Regions from separate parts of the Homo sapiens genome. Here region 2 is linked to region 1. The links are contacts of gene promoters, found by promoter capture Hi-C in human tissues and cell types (Jung and others, 2019). All regions are on one chromosome and are shown on one strand. The core of a region is centred on a gene start or on the middle of the fragment in contact, and the rest is flanking DNA. Distances in the headings are between cores, read along the strand shown.

Evidence for each region. The method cuts DNA at HindIII sites, captures the fragments that hold promoters and counts their contacts. A contact is called where the count stands out against the background at its distance.
Region 2: a fragment that was not itself captured here is called in contact with the fragment with the promoter of TRAF1 in region 1 in 1 of the 25 tissues and cell types used here (adrenal gland).

Annotation. Positions count from the first base shown.
Region 1 is chr9:120,921,686-120,928,801 of GRCh38, forward strand. TRAF1 (TNF receptor associated factor 1) reads right to left here and starts at 5,111. Exons shown (of 8, transcript NM_005658.5): 1 at 4,865-5,111; 2 at 4,251-4,616; 3 at 2,020-2,107. The coding sequence starts at 4,390. RefSeq lists enhancers at 3,740-4,263, 3,860-3,929, 4,390-4,729, 5,070-5,389 and a silencer at 7,050-7,116. The HindIII fragment of the contact is 9,494 bases long and covers 737-7,116 here.
Region 2 is chr9:121,085,061-121,092,176 of GRCh38, forward strand. It overlaps CNTRL (centriolin), which reads left to right. Exons shown (of 44, transcript NM_007018.6): 3 at 3,236-3,483; 4 at 5,215-5,345. The coding sequence starts at 3,267. Among named protein-coding and RNA genes, the nearest start is that of CNTRL, 14 kb to the left of the region's middle. The HindIII fragment of the contact is 3,281 bases long and covers 1,003-4,283 here.

The DNA.
Region 1 (7,116 bases), core at 3,861-6,360:
TCCAAGAACATGCATTTGGTCCTTACTCTTACTCTCTGAGGGCCTGCCGATGGAGAGGTTGCTGAGAAGCAGATGGGAGAGTGCTCAAAACCAGCTCTGGGTGGGACAGGAAATTCCCCTGAACTCTCTGAATGAGAGGGACCAGCTCAGAGAAAGGAGAAGGAGGTGTGGACACTCGCCTGCCTCTGGTCCAGCGGTAGGGGGATAGCTGCCCTGCCAGCACTGCTATCACGGTCTGGACATCACAGATCCTGGAAAGGCCTTGCAGAGCTGACTTAATATCCTCATTTTACAGATACAGAAACAGGGCCTGGGAATTGCTGCTAGCCAAGCAGAGAATTATGCAGAACCACCCCTGGACATCAGGCTCCTGATCCCTGGGCCACAGTTTGCTGCAAGAAGAGGGCTTTGGCTGAAAGGAGCCAGGCACTTCCCAGTGGAGGTAGAGAGGGCGGCTGAGCAACGAGACTCCTCTGCAGGTCTCAGGGCCCCGTGTGTAAACAAGAGGATTTGATTTTGAGCAGTGACTCCTGCCTGTTTGGATTCGTGGACCAATACGAGTGTGTTTTTTTTTAAATTGAGAGATTAACAAAGAGATTGTCATCTTTTTAATTTTACTTAGCAAAGGCTTTGCCAAAAACTATCATCTACGATTACATCCTTTCATTTATATAAAGACATGCATAGGACAGACGCAATCTCAGAGTAAAAGTTTGGTTTTATAAATGGAAAGAATTTAGTTTACATAAACTGATTTATAGAATTGCCTTATTTTTATCATTTTGTCATGAGCTGGTGGGAATGGATCAGTTCTGGATAGCATGTGGGAACCTCTGAGCAGGACATGTAACCTATGAGGGTCCTTCCAGCTTGGGAGGGCCAGGGTTCTAAATTGTAGCTCCTGAAAATGTCTCTCTGGCCTATCACACTTCCAAATGTGTCTCTTATTCCTAGAAGCACCGTTTGACAGAGCTCAGGACGTGAGCTGATAATGGTCTCTCCCCACCTAAAGGCAAACAGAGGCAGACAGAACCATCTAGATGAGGAGTTTGCTAACCTTTTTTATGTAAAGGGGTGGATAGTAAATATTTTGGGCTATGAAGTCTTTGTTGCAAGTACTCAATTTTATATAATTTTCATGTGTCCCAAAATATCTTTTTTTGTTTTTTTGAGACAGGGTCTCATTCTGCTACCCAGGCTGGAGTGTAGTGGCACGATCATGGTTCACTGCAGCCTCGACCTCCCCAGGCTCAGGCGACTCTCCTACCTCAGCCTCCAGACTAACTGGGACTACAGGCATGTGCCACCATGCCAGGTTAGTTTTTATATTTTTTGTAAACATGTGGTTTCATCATGTTGCCCAGGCTAGTATCAAACTCCTGGGCTCAAGCTCTCCGCCCACCTCGGCCTCCCAAAGTGTTAGAATTACAGGCATGTAATTCTATGTAATTTGAATTCTAACACTTCAGAATTACAGGCATGTTTGTCATTTACCAAGGGGTTTATATTTGTTATTATAAGAACTTTTTTGATTATTATTGATTGGGGCTCATAACAATTCTGTGATGCAGAAAACAGTTTTACAGACAAGCAAGCTGTGGCTTGAGAACATTAGCAGTGCAGCAGGCCACACAGTGAGAGAGTGGCCTCACAGCCTCGAGAATTACAGGTCATTATGCATGGCCTATCATTCTTCTGATTTTTTCAACCATTTGAAAATATAAAAACCACTCTTAGCTCGTTGCTTAGGTGGTGGGCCAGAATGTGGCCCATGAACCGTAGTTTGTGGACCCCTGGTCTGGACTGTTCTCACTCTAAGTCTATTGCCAGGTAGCTTTAGGCAAGACACTTCACCACTGTGAACATCAGTCTCCTTATTCCTTATAAAGCAAATTCAGTCTGGACTCAGGACTAGTTGGGAGGTGCCTGCCAGGGGTGGAGTGGGCAGCTGTCTACTTGGCTTCAACCTGGAAAAATCAAGACAACGGACAAATGCCTTTCTGTGATGTGCCAACGTACCTTCTCCTGAGTTCGAAGACGGCTTCCTGGGCTTATAGACTGGAGGTCTTCCCCTCTGCATTTGGGGCAGATCTGATCCTCGCCATTCCTGGGGAAACATGGACAAAGCCTTGGAGAGAGGCACTACAGCTCCCTGCACCATCCACTCTCCTGACAGCTCCAGAAGCCTCAACTATCAGCAGGGTGGTGATCATGTACGTCCACAATCCCAGAGCCACAGTTCCTAAATCGCAAAACTGCCGAGTATCCCACATTTTTTGGTAGTTTGCAGTGAGCTTCCTGGGCTGCCAAACCTGCCGTGACTGCACTGACCGGAAGCTATTATAGCCCTTACTTGCCCCACTTAGTGTGAATATATACATGTTTCATTGCAGAAACATTAATGTGCTTGATTACAGGGCACTGCCGCATTCCCTGCCACAATTACATGATGCCCTGATTTGCTTTTCTAAAAAAAATTCTGAATTACAAAACACATCTGATCTCAGGGGTTTAGGCAAAAGATTGCTGACATGTGACTATATTTGCTCTTCTCATTTGGTCCTCCATTTGGTTTTGGTCTTATATGTTTAGTAATTACAGAGGATCATGGCCTATTAGAACAAGAAAGGGCCTCAGAGAACATCTGTCCTAGAGGTTCTTAATCAGGAATGGGTGTCAGATTCTAATGGGTAACACCTGGGTACCCGTGGGTTTTTTGTCTGTTTTTTGGGGGTTTTTCTTTTTTTGAGACAGGGTCTTACTCTGTAGCCCAGGCTGGAGTGCAGTGGTGCGATCTCAGCTCACTGCAACCTCTGCCTCCCAGGTTCAAGTGATTCTCATGCCTTAGCCTCCCAAGTAGCTGGGATTACAGGTGCACACCACCACACCCAGCTAATTCTTGTATTTTTAGTAGAGATGAGGTTTCACCTTGTTGGCCAGGCTGGTCTCAAACTCCTGACCTCAAGTGATCCTCCTGCCTCGGCCTGCCAAAGTGCTGGGATTACAGGCATGAGCCACTGCGCCTGGCCAGCAACTGTGTTTTTACAAAGCTCCTGGTGTCTCTGACCTGCTACCGCTACCGAGATAGTCTATTTTACAAGTGAGGGAATGAGGCCCCAGAGGGCATGTGGATTGGTCAAGGTAGAGTGAGTCAGGAGCAGAGCTGAGTAGAAGCTCTTCAGGACTTAGGCCTCAGGCCTCAGCCCTCCAACTTCCAATCAGCTCCCTCCTCTGCCAGGTTTTGGAAGGAGGGAGAGGGGAAACCAGGAGACCCACTACCAGAGCCTGAGCTGAACCCTGACAATCCGCTTGATGGTAAAACCAGTGAACCTCTGCTCCTCCACCTCCTGGCTGGCCTTTCCACGGCCACAGCCTCTCCTCGCTATTCTCACAGCCTCCTCCTTTGTCGTCATGTTTGAACTTCTCACTTGCCTGATTCAGCTTTGCCACCTTCTTAAGCTGTAAAACCGCAAACAAAAGGTCATCACATGAGATAGTTTAAGGGCATATTTGCCAGGAAACTGACCAAAGCTGACCTAATCTGTTAGGCCTCAGTGTTCTCATTTGTAAAATAGGATCATAATAGTATCCACCCCTCTAAGTTGTGCTGAGGACCCAAGGGCAGAGCATTTGGCACACAGTAGGTGCATAATTGCTTAAAGAGGGATGTCCACAATAGTACTGATATCATGCCTTTCTGGGTTGTTAATATTTTAAGTATCATTAAATACACAAATATATATCGATCTCTTTGTCCCCTCCAAAAGGGTTCCCAGCAAACGGTCTGAGGTGATGAGCAATGCTGTGGAAGGAGAGATATTCGTCTAACAGTTTGTCATTCACCAAGAGGTTTATATTTGTTATTATAAGGACTTTTGTGATTATTATTCATTGGGCTTCATTAACAATTCTATGACACAGAAAACAGCTTTACAGACAAGCGAGCTGCGGCTTAGGGACATTAGCAGAGCACCAGACCACACAGTGAGACAGTGGCCTCACAGCCTCGAGGCTCTCCTCGGTGTGGATGGCTTTCCCCTGTGGGAGCTGATGCCTTTCTGTGGCTTCCTCTCCTTCCACCACAGCCAGAGGGGCAGTGTCAGGGAGTGTGAGAAAAGGGTGTGGAAACTGAGGCCCAGAGAAGAAAAGTCACCGCCTGAAGTCACAGGCTCCTCTGCCCCTCACCTCCCATCAGGGGTCCCTCCCTGGCACCCACTTTCTGCCCACCCTCCGCTCCTCCATCACCTCACCTCGGGTTCTCAGAGAGACAGCCTGCACAGCAGAGAGCCCTGGGCTCCTTTGGGTCCTGGCAGACGGTGGGAGGGCACCCAAAGGGAAACTCATTCTCATCAGGGGCCGGGCGAGGACTGCTGCCTGAGCTGGAGGCCATCTCAGGGTTCCAGGCTGGCCAGAGGGCCTGTTTAAGTTGCTCCAGGGCAGGGGACCAGCCTTGTGGAGTCCTGGCCTGGGCCTCACTCTCTGGTGAGTAGGAGCTCTGATGACTTTATCTTCTTCTCTCTGGCTTGTGTGGTTCAACGTCACAGCTGAGTCACAGCAGGGATGGAGCAGGAATTACCCTTTGTGGCGATAAAAATCCCCTGGATGGTGACTGAAGGCTTTAGGAGTGTCCAGTCATTTTTTTTTTTTTTTAGAGTGAGAAAAAGCAAGAGAGCAAGTCAGAGAAAATGACCCGTGTCACAGACTCTCAGAAAGCACAGTGAGAGTTCCCCTGGTTGAGAATCGCAGGCTGCCGCTGGCTTCCCCCACTTCCCTGGGCACATCGGAGGAGGGGGCCACAGCTGGTCCCTGGTCTGTGTTCCCTGGCACCTCTGAGCAGCCTGGAATTCTCAGTGGGGGTGCTCACCTTCCTGGTGGAAATCCCCAGGGTGTTGGAGACAGGTCCAAAATTTCAAGTTCTAGGCGCTTTTGCTCTGCTCTGTTTGGAGTGTCTGGGTGACCTCAAGGAGAAGTCACTTCCTCACAGTGGGTTCTGATGACTCCATCTGTAAAAAAGAAGTTGCAACAGGTGGCCTCTGGGCTGTAAGATTCTGGGACCCTATCTTGCCTGGGACTGAGGCAACCAGAAGGAGCAGGAAAGCCCTGATGAAATCCAAGGCCTAGGACCACAGACTCCTCAGGGCCCTCCCCACACCACCCCACTCAGGAAGTCATAGGTGGCTACATGCTCCGGTCAGGTGCCACCACTTTACTGCCTCAAGGAGAACAAAGCGCTAAACAAATGCAAGATCACAGCAGCTGGTCTCAGCATCCAAGTGGGATGTAGATCCACATTTGCAGGAAAAGTGCACTGGGGAAACGATGGCTCCCAGAATGTGTACTGTGTGCTGGGCAACAGTTTCCCTCCAAATCCTTACAGCAACCTGCAAGGAATTCTTCTGCAGCTGTATATAGGGTCAGAGAAGCAAGATGCCTGGTCCAAAGGCACACAGCCTCTGGTAGTGGAGTGGGATTCACACCAGGGCTGTGGGGCCCCAAGCTCTGTGTGCTTGGGATGGAGATCAGAGTACCCAGCTCTTGTCTCATCTATCAAATGGAGAAGACAATCCCTACACATCTTTCCATCCTGCTTGGCTGCTACAGAGGTTTTGCAAACTTTCACAGTGGTTTCAGATCATGGGTTTTGAGGTCAGACAGAGCTGAGTTGAAATCCTGGGTCCACTGCTTACTAACTGTGGGCCCTGGGACAAAGTCCTTAACTTCCCTGAAACTCAGATTCTGCATCTGTAAAATGGGACAATAATACCTATTTCACCCATTTGTTGTGATGACTAAATGAGATAGTGGGTCAAAGTGTGGTGTGTAACCCAAGTGAAGTACTTGAATGACATTTGGCTCAGATGGTGACTACAGGCCTTCCAGCTCCTCAGAGAAAAGGATTAAAGTGGTGCATTATGCTTATACTGTGCTTTCACGTCTATCTACTGGAGCCTCAACAGGTGGGCAGGGCAGGTCATCTGGCCTGAGATACATTAAACTGCCCACCTGCCCTGGTGTAACACCAGGGCTGCCACAGGCTGGTGGCAAAGACAGCACGGCATCTTACCGCCACAATGTACATCAGGACCTCCACCCCCATAACAAACGACCTCCAGGCCTGCATCAAGACTATCAGAAGACACTCCCTTTTAACTGTGTACCCCATACCTGCAAGCTTTCCTGCAGCCAGCCCTACCTGTTCCCTCCTTCCCCTGGTTTGGGATAAAACAGGCACCCAAGACTTCTCTCCCCATCTGTGGGTCCCTTCTCTCCCCTCCGGCCTCAATACCACCCTCTCTACCTGCTCATTCCCACGGACATCAAAACGTGCGCAACCTGCTCTAATAAGAAAAGGGAAAAATAGTACTACTTTTGGGTACCGTCTTACGTAATTTTACAGACATCATCTCATCTAATTTTCACTCTGTGAAGCAGGTATTGCCATCATCATCCCCACCTTACAGATGAGAAAACTGAGGCACAGAGAGGCTAAGCGACTTGTTCAAGGTCTCACAGCTAGTGAGTGGGGACCCCTGAACCCAGAGCCAGTCCTGTAACCACGCACGCTTTTAAAACACTCTTTATTCTCGTCTCCAATTTCTACATCTACTCTCGCCTCACCTAACGGTAGAACTTCTAGAAAAGATTGTCTATACAGGCACTTGGATCTCCAGGGAATCATCTCTCCAAGTGTATACGCATGTCGGGGACGCCAAATGCCCTGGGCCCGCCCCAGTTTCTATCCAACCAGCCCTCCTGCCAGCACCTGACCCGGCTCTCAGCCCTTCCTTCCGGAATCCCTTCCTTTCCCCGGCTTCCCGCATCCTCTGCGGGGAATTCCCCCCGCGTCTCTGGTGGCTCCTTATCCGTCTCCTTGACCCCTTTCTCTTCTACACTGGGCCTCCATCGGCTCCATCCACGAGGAGTCTCTCTGCGCCGCGTGTCCCCATCTCCCACTCGTCCTTTGGGGCGCCCCTGCACCAGACCCCACTCCCACGGGAAGTCTCCGTGGGCCGCCCCATGATGAGGCTGGGCGCCCCGCTCTGTGATTCCTCGCGCCTGCCGGCGCCAGCACAGCCCCCGCCGCCCGGCTCTGCAGGCTGAGCCCCCAGCCAGGTC
Region 2 (7,116 bases), core at 1,393-3,892, 160 kb after region 1:
GACACTGAAGTTTGAAGTGATCAGATGTTTTTCATATAGCATGAGACAAATATGAATGGATTTCAGAAACGATATTTAACAAAAAAGGCAGATTTAAAAGATATTTTATGGTTTCATTTCTCTAAAGTTCAAAAATAGTTCAAAAATCTCTGGTGTTGGAAGTCAGGATGGTGATTCCCCATGTGTGGGAGTTAGTGACTGGAAGGGGGCATGAGACGACTTCTGGGATTCTGGAAATATTCTGTTTCTTTACCTGGATGCTGATTACATAGCTTGTGTTCACTGCATAGAAATTCATGAAGCTATATACACTTATGATTTATGTACTTTATGTATGATACATTGCAATAAAAAATATGCATACAGAGAGAGAGAGAGAGCACATGCATGAAAGAGCACACTGTTGAAAGTATGGTTTTTAAACAGGGTGAATTCTAGTTATAAGATGTTAGATGTATTCATGACCTAGACACCATGGAGCTGCTGGGAATTCAGAGATTACTTCTCCACTTGTGGTTGTTACATTCTGAGCAAGCAAAAGATATATAGTAGGTATATTCAGTGTAATAAACAGGGAGGATTCATTCTGTAGGAAGAAAGTAGATTTCTGGAAAGTCTTCACAAGAAAAGTAACAGTTTAATTGGTTGAGAGAAATAAGAGGATGTTTAATTCCCTTTAACGAATTCCCTTTAAGGAAAGGGAATTTCATGAGCAAAAACTCATGATGTGTTCAGGCAATGACAAAAAGATGACTAGAGCAATGGTATGTGGTGGGGAGGCCAGAAAGTTTGGGCCAGACTGTGATGAGTCCTGTTTGTAGTGCATGGTGCCAAAATGTTTAGACTCATAGGCATTGGGAACCATTACATTTCTTTTGTTTTTATTATATAAGTGGGTCAAAGGTAGAGGATGGATTGAGGATAAAGGAGAACTGGAAGGAAGGTGGTTCTGAGAGTATCTTAATAGTCTAAGCAAGAGAGGATAAAAGTTGAATCTAGGGCAGTAGCTGTGACGATGGATAGAGACGAATTTCAAAATATTTTGGAGATAGAATCAATATTGTTGGACGATGGAGAGGGATGACTGGAAGATAACTCTATTCATTCATTTATTCAACAAATATGTATTGAGTTCCTGCTAGGTACCAGGCACTATGCTAGACTCGGGAGACAGTGTAAACAAAACAGACAGGCTCTCGTGGAGCATACAGTTCAGAATGGAGACAAATGTTAAGCAAAATGACATAAATGTGTAATTTCAAACTGATTATGTGAGGAAAAAATACAAATTCATTGAGAGTATAGAACCGGGGACTTCACTTCATCTGCCCTGCACTGGAGGCTTTCCTGAAGAAGCAACAGTTGAGCTGATCTCTGAAGGAAGACTACAAATTAACATGGTAAAAAGAATGAGATCAAGCATTATTATTACTGTGAGGAGGCCAGTGTGACTGGAGCCCACAATTGAGGGAACGAATGACAGAGGTGAATCTAGAGCAATAGGGACAGATCATGGGGGACCACCTTGTAGGTCATGGTAAAGATTTCCTTCATTACAGACTGCTGGATTTACTTTTTTTTTTTTTTTTTTTTTTCCTGAGATGGAGTCTCGCTCTGTTTCCCAGGCTGGACTGCAGTGGCGCGATCTAGGCTCACTGCAGCTTCTGCCTCCTGGGTTCAAGAGATTCTGTTGCCTCAGCCTCCTCCCCTCGACCCCAAGTAGCTGGGATTACAGGTGCATGCCACCACACCTAGCTAATTTTTGTATTTCTAGTAGAGACGGGGTTTTGCCATGTTGGCCAGGCTGGTCTCAAACTCCTGACCTCAGATGATCCACCTGACTCGGCCTCCCAAAGTGCGGGGATTATAGGCATGAGCCACCGCTCCTGGACTGGATTTACTTTTTAAATAGATCACTCTGGCTATCTGACTGCAATGTAATGATGGAAGAATAAGGCAAGAGAGCTTGTAGACAGATCAGTTAGAAGCTGTTATAGTAGTTTGATGAGGGCTTGGATTAGAGTGCGTGAGAGTGAAAATGGAAAGAAGCAGACTTAATTTGAGAGGTTATTTGGGAGTAAGAATTAACAGGATTTAGCGATTGACTGAGTATGGGACAAGGGAAGAGGGAGGTGTCAGGAATGACTCCCAGGTTTTTGGCTTATTCCAGCGAGCAGTGTTCAGTATTTAGGGAACACTGGAAGACGAAAAGGAGAGTGAGAGGAGGAACGGGGTAAATAAATTCAATCTGGACTGAGTGTAGGATGCCAATGAGATATCACGTAGGCAATTGGAAATAGGAGTCTGGAGCTCAGAGAAAGATTGGATTGAGGTTATAAATATCGGCTGGGCATGATGGCTCACACCCATATGTAATCCCAGCACTTTGGGAGGCCAAGGCACGTGGATCACCTGAGGTCAGGAGTTCGAGATCAGCCTGGCCAACATGGCGAAACCCCATCTCTACTAAAAGTACAAAAATTAGCCGGGCATGGTGACAGGCGCCAGGAATCCCAGCTGCTCGGGAGGTCGAGGCAGAAGAATAGCTTGAACCTGGGAGGCAGAGGTTGCAGTGAGCCGAGATCGCACCATTGCACTCCAGCCTGGGCGACAAGAGTGAGATTCTGTCTCAAAAAAAATAAAAAATTAAATAGAGTAAACACATGGCATTGGGAACCATGGGTGTGCATTAATTTGTCCAAGATAAGATTAGACAGAAACTAGAAGGGACCAATGAGGAGTTCTGATGTTTAAATTACACTGCAAGGAGGAACAAAAGCCAGCAAAGGAGTCCATGGAGTGGCCAGGGAGGCAGGAGGATACCAGGAGAATGCGGTGTCCCAGAAACCAAAGGAAGAAACTTTGAGGAAGGAGAGAGTGCTCATCAGTATTAAATACTGCTGGTTGCCAAATATTCCAGCTTCCTGCATTCTAGGACCCCGTTATGTGGGTAAAAGGGGCCTTGGGACTAGTTTGGTTCAATAAACAGAACAGGAATGACAACACTTCCAGCTGGAGCATGTGTCAATTCTATCCCCTCTGGAGATCCCTTTTCTCTCTGGCAAGGTCATCAGTGATGTTTGATACAGTGTCTGCTCCATCAGCTTGGAGTAGTATGGGTCCTAGCATTTATGGCCTCTGAGTTTATAACTTTATAGACCTGAAGGTTCTAGAAAGAATAGTTTTGATAACTCTTAAAAATTAATCTTGTTGAATATACTGAAAACTCTTACAGGTTTTGATGAACACCTGGCTTTATTCTTGCAATGAAGAAAGGTTCTCAACAAAAAATATTCTCCAAAGCAAAGATACCATCATCATCTCACTCTCCTATCCCATCATCTATGTCCAATATGAGATCTAGGTCACTTTCACCTTTGATTGGATCAGAGACTCTACCTTTTCATTCTGGAGGACAGTGGTGTGAGCAAGTTGAGATTGCAGATGAAAACAATATGCTTTTGGACTATCAAGACCATAAAGGTATCACTTTTTAATCTAAGAATTGGTCTGACCACATACTTCAAGTAGAGATGGAAAATTTTCGGCTTGCATTTTTGGTCCAACTGTAACATTCTGGTACTAATTTGATCTATTGTTTTTATTAACAGAAATTAAGGACTGTAAGGACAGTTGGAGGATTGAGGTTTCTGGGTGAGGGTAAAGATGTCAGTGGATTCAAAGAGGGAGTTTTCAGAAAGAGGAAGCTTTGTTTCCTGTGGTAGGAGAGTGTCTTAAAACTCATCCCAAAACTTGCCATCCTCTTTGGTTAAGGGGAGGGAAGATCTGTTCACTTCAGAGTGGAGCGCCTTAATTCAGTAAAAAAACGTTATACATACTTGGCCTATGCCAGTCTTCTTATTAGCAAACTGCTTATCTGTGAATGGACTGATTTCCACATATGGGACATGTATGTATGTTCCACTAGTGTTTTAGTTTTTTCTTAAAATCATCTGTTAGTCTAGGAATCTGTTCTCAAAAGTGCATTGTTGGGGGTATAGCTTAGTGGTAGAGCATTTAACTTCAAAAGTAAGTTATTCTTTGGTAAGTCATGAAATAATAGCCATTAAACTCTAATCAGGTTTTATTAGCATTAACAACACTGAGTTTATACTATATCTTTGCTGCAAGTTGGCATATTGTTATTTCTAATTTGATTAATATTTTAGAATGTTATCAAATTTAGAATATTAATCAATTTTCTTTCCAAGAACAAGCCAAGTTAAATTTAAATATCTTTTTATTTTGCACCAAAATAAATTTAATACTAACTTGTAAATAATCTTAGAGAATCTTTGGCTCACAGCCTGGATCTCAACCCAGGATTAATTTTTTCTGACTCGTAAGGCAGGAACCAAGAGGTGATTTACTTTTTAGGGCTACTTTTGTAAAATGTAATGTGGCATTAACAGTCTTTGACAACAATATCCAGGAAAGTTATAAGACCAGATTTGCCATCCATCAAGTGACTGCTCTAGCTCTATAAAATATGTTGTGATTTTCTCTATTTAAAAGTGCAACAAATTTAGAGTTTCTTACCATAAAAAAATAGGAAAAGAGGATTTTTAAGAATTTCAGTGTTTCTGAACTTTAGATTGGAATTTTCTAAAAAAACAAACAACTAAGTATTACCAGTTTATTTTTAAAAACTAACACGAAAATATTGCTGAAAACTTCATATAGTTAAAAGTGCAAGTTTTATATTCCTCTGACTGGATTCAAGTTCTGGATTTGTGCCTTAATTAGCTGTAGGATCTTGAGCAAATGATTTTTTTTAGTAAGTGATGATATTAATAATTTCTATCTCAAAGGTTTGTTGTATAAATTAAATTTTAAAAATGTAAACCACTTAGCCCAAAGCTTGGCACACACCAAATATTTATAGTGTGTATAACCATTATCATCTTTGTATCATTATAGTTACTACATTACAATACGTTATAGTATTACAATACATTAATTGTAATATACAATACATTATAGTTATTACATTATAATACATTATAGTATTACAATCATTACATCATTATTTCATTATAATTATGAAATGCTATGAAGTAAAATATTATTAAAACATTATGATTAGAAATAGCCAGCTTTTTTGGTATATTCATGGCTTAATTTTTGTTTTTGTTACATAACATCAAAACAACTTGTTCTTTGTGATATTCATGTCTTTCCTCTACTGATGATGATCTGTTTCTATAATTTCAGGAGCTGATTCACATGCAGGAGTTAGATATATTACAGAGGCCCTCATTAAAAAACTTACTAAACAGGATAATTTGGCTTTGATAAAATCTCTGAACCTTTCACTTTCTAAAGACGGTGGCAAGAAATTTAAGGTAGGTTACCAACAATTTCTGAGCATAGATACTGTTTTTAACTTTTCTGTGCTTTAATACTGCGAAAAAAAATTATCCTAATGTCACCTAATTTGTGGCAGACCTTTTATTGTTTCCAGTGAATGTTCTAAATCAGAAGTATATGACATTTCCAAATTAATAAGTTTCTATTACTCAATATTCTTACAACATTGACTCTGTAGAGAAGGGGTTGGCAAAGTACAGCTTACAGGCCAGATCAGGCCAGCTATCTATTTTTGTAAGTAAAGTTTTATTGGAACACAGTCACCCTTATTTGTTTACATATTGTCTGTGGTTGTTTTTGCACTACAGTAGCAGAGCTTAGTAGTTGCCACAGACTATATGGCCCGCAAAGCCAAAAACATTTACTATTTGGCCTTTGTATTCGTTCATTTTCATGCTGCTGATAAAGACATACCCAAGACTGGGCAATTTACAAAAGAAAGAGGTTTAATTGGACTTACAGTTTCACGTGGCTGGGGAAGCCTCACAATCGTGGTGGAAGGCAAAGAGGAGCAAGTCACGTCTTACATGGATGGCAGCAGGCCTAAAGAGAGCTTGTGAAGGAAAACTCCCCCTTATAATAACCACCAGATCTTGTGAGACTTACTATCACGAGAACAGTAGGGGAAGGACCTGCCCCCATGATTCAATTATCTCCCACTGGGTCCCTCCCACAACACATGGGAATTCAAGATGAGATTTGGGTGGGGACACAGCTAAACCATATCAGCCTTTTACAGAAAATGTTTGCTAATTCCTGCTCTAGAGTGTTTACAGCTTCATTCATAAACTATACAACATGAACACATTATAATAGACAACTTAATTCCTTTAATTGGAAGAAAAAAACCTTAGATTTCTACCACGTATTATTCACAAAAAGTATTTCCAGAAGGGTGAAGAACTAAATGAAAACAAAGCAAAATGAAAACACCAAGTAACAGAAATGCTATAAAAGTATTAGAGAGAGTATATGAGAATATTTTTAAAATCTTAGAGTGGTGAAGGTCCCCCTAAGCAAATACTAACCCTAGTACCACAAAGGAAAAATATTGACAGATTTAGCCTGCATAAGACTTAAACATTGTGTTTAATGAAAGATGTATTTTAATAAGTTAAAAGAAAAGCAGCAGCCGGGCGCAGTGGCTCACACCTGTAATCCCAGCACTTTGGGAGGCCGAGGTGGGCAGATCACCTGAGGTCAGGAGTTTGAGACCAGCCTGGGCAACATGATGAAACCCCATCTCTACTAAAAATACCAAAAATTAGCCAGGCGTAGTGGCGGGCGCCTGTAATCCCAGCTACTCAGGAGGCTGAGATAGGAGAATCACTTGAACCCAGGAGGTGGAGGTTGCAGTGAGCCAAGATCGCGCCATTGTACTCTAGCCTGGGCAACCTAGATGTTCATACAGCTGGCTTCTTGTTGTTAAGGTCTCAACTTAGTGAGGTCTTCTCTTTTTTTTTTTTTTTTTTTTTTGAGACAGGGTCTCACTCTGTCATCTAGGCCGATGCCCTCTCTTACCACCCAATCACAATTAGTCACCCTCTCCTCAGTCGCACTCTCATTCTTTTAGTCAACAAGTATTTATTTAGCACCAGGCAGTAATGCTAGAGTAGTGAAACACAACGGGCAAAATATATATATTTATATATAAATATAAATATATACATATTTTATAGATTTTTATAGCAAACATGTATTGCTTATATATTTATATATGCTTATATATAAATATATACATATTTT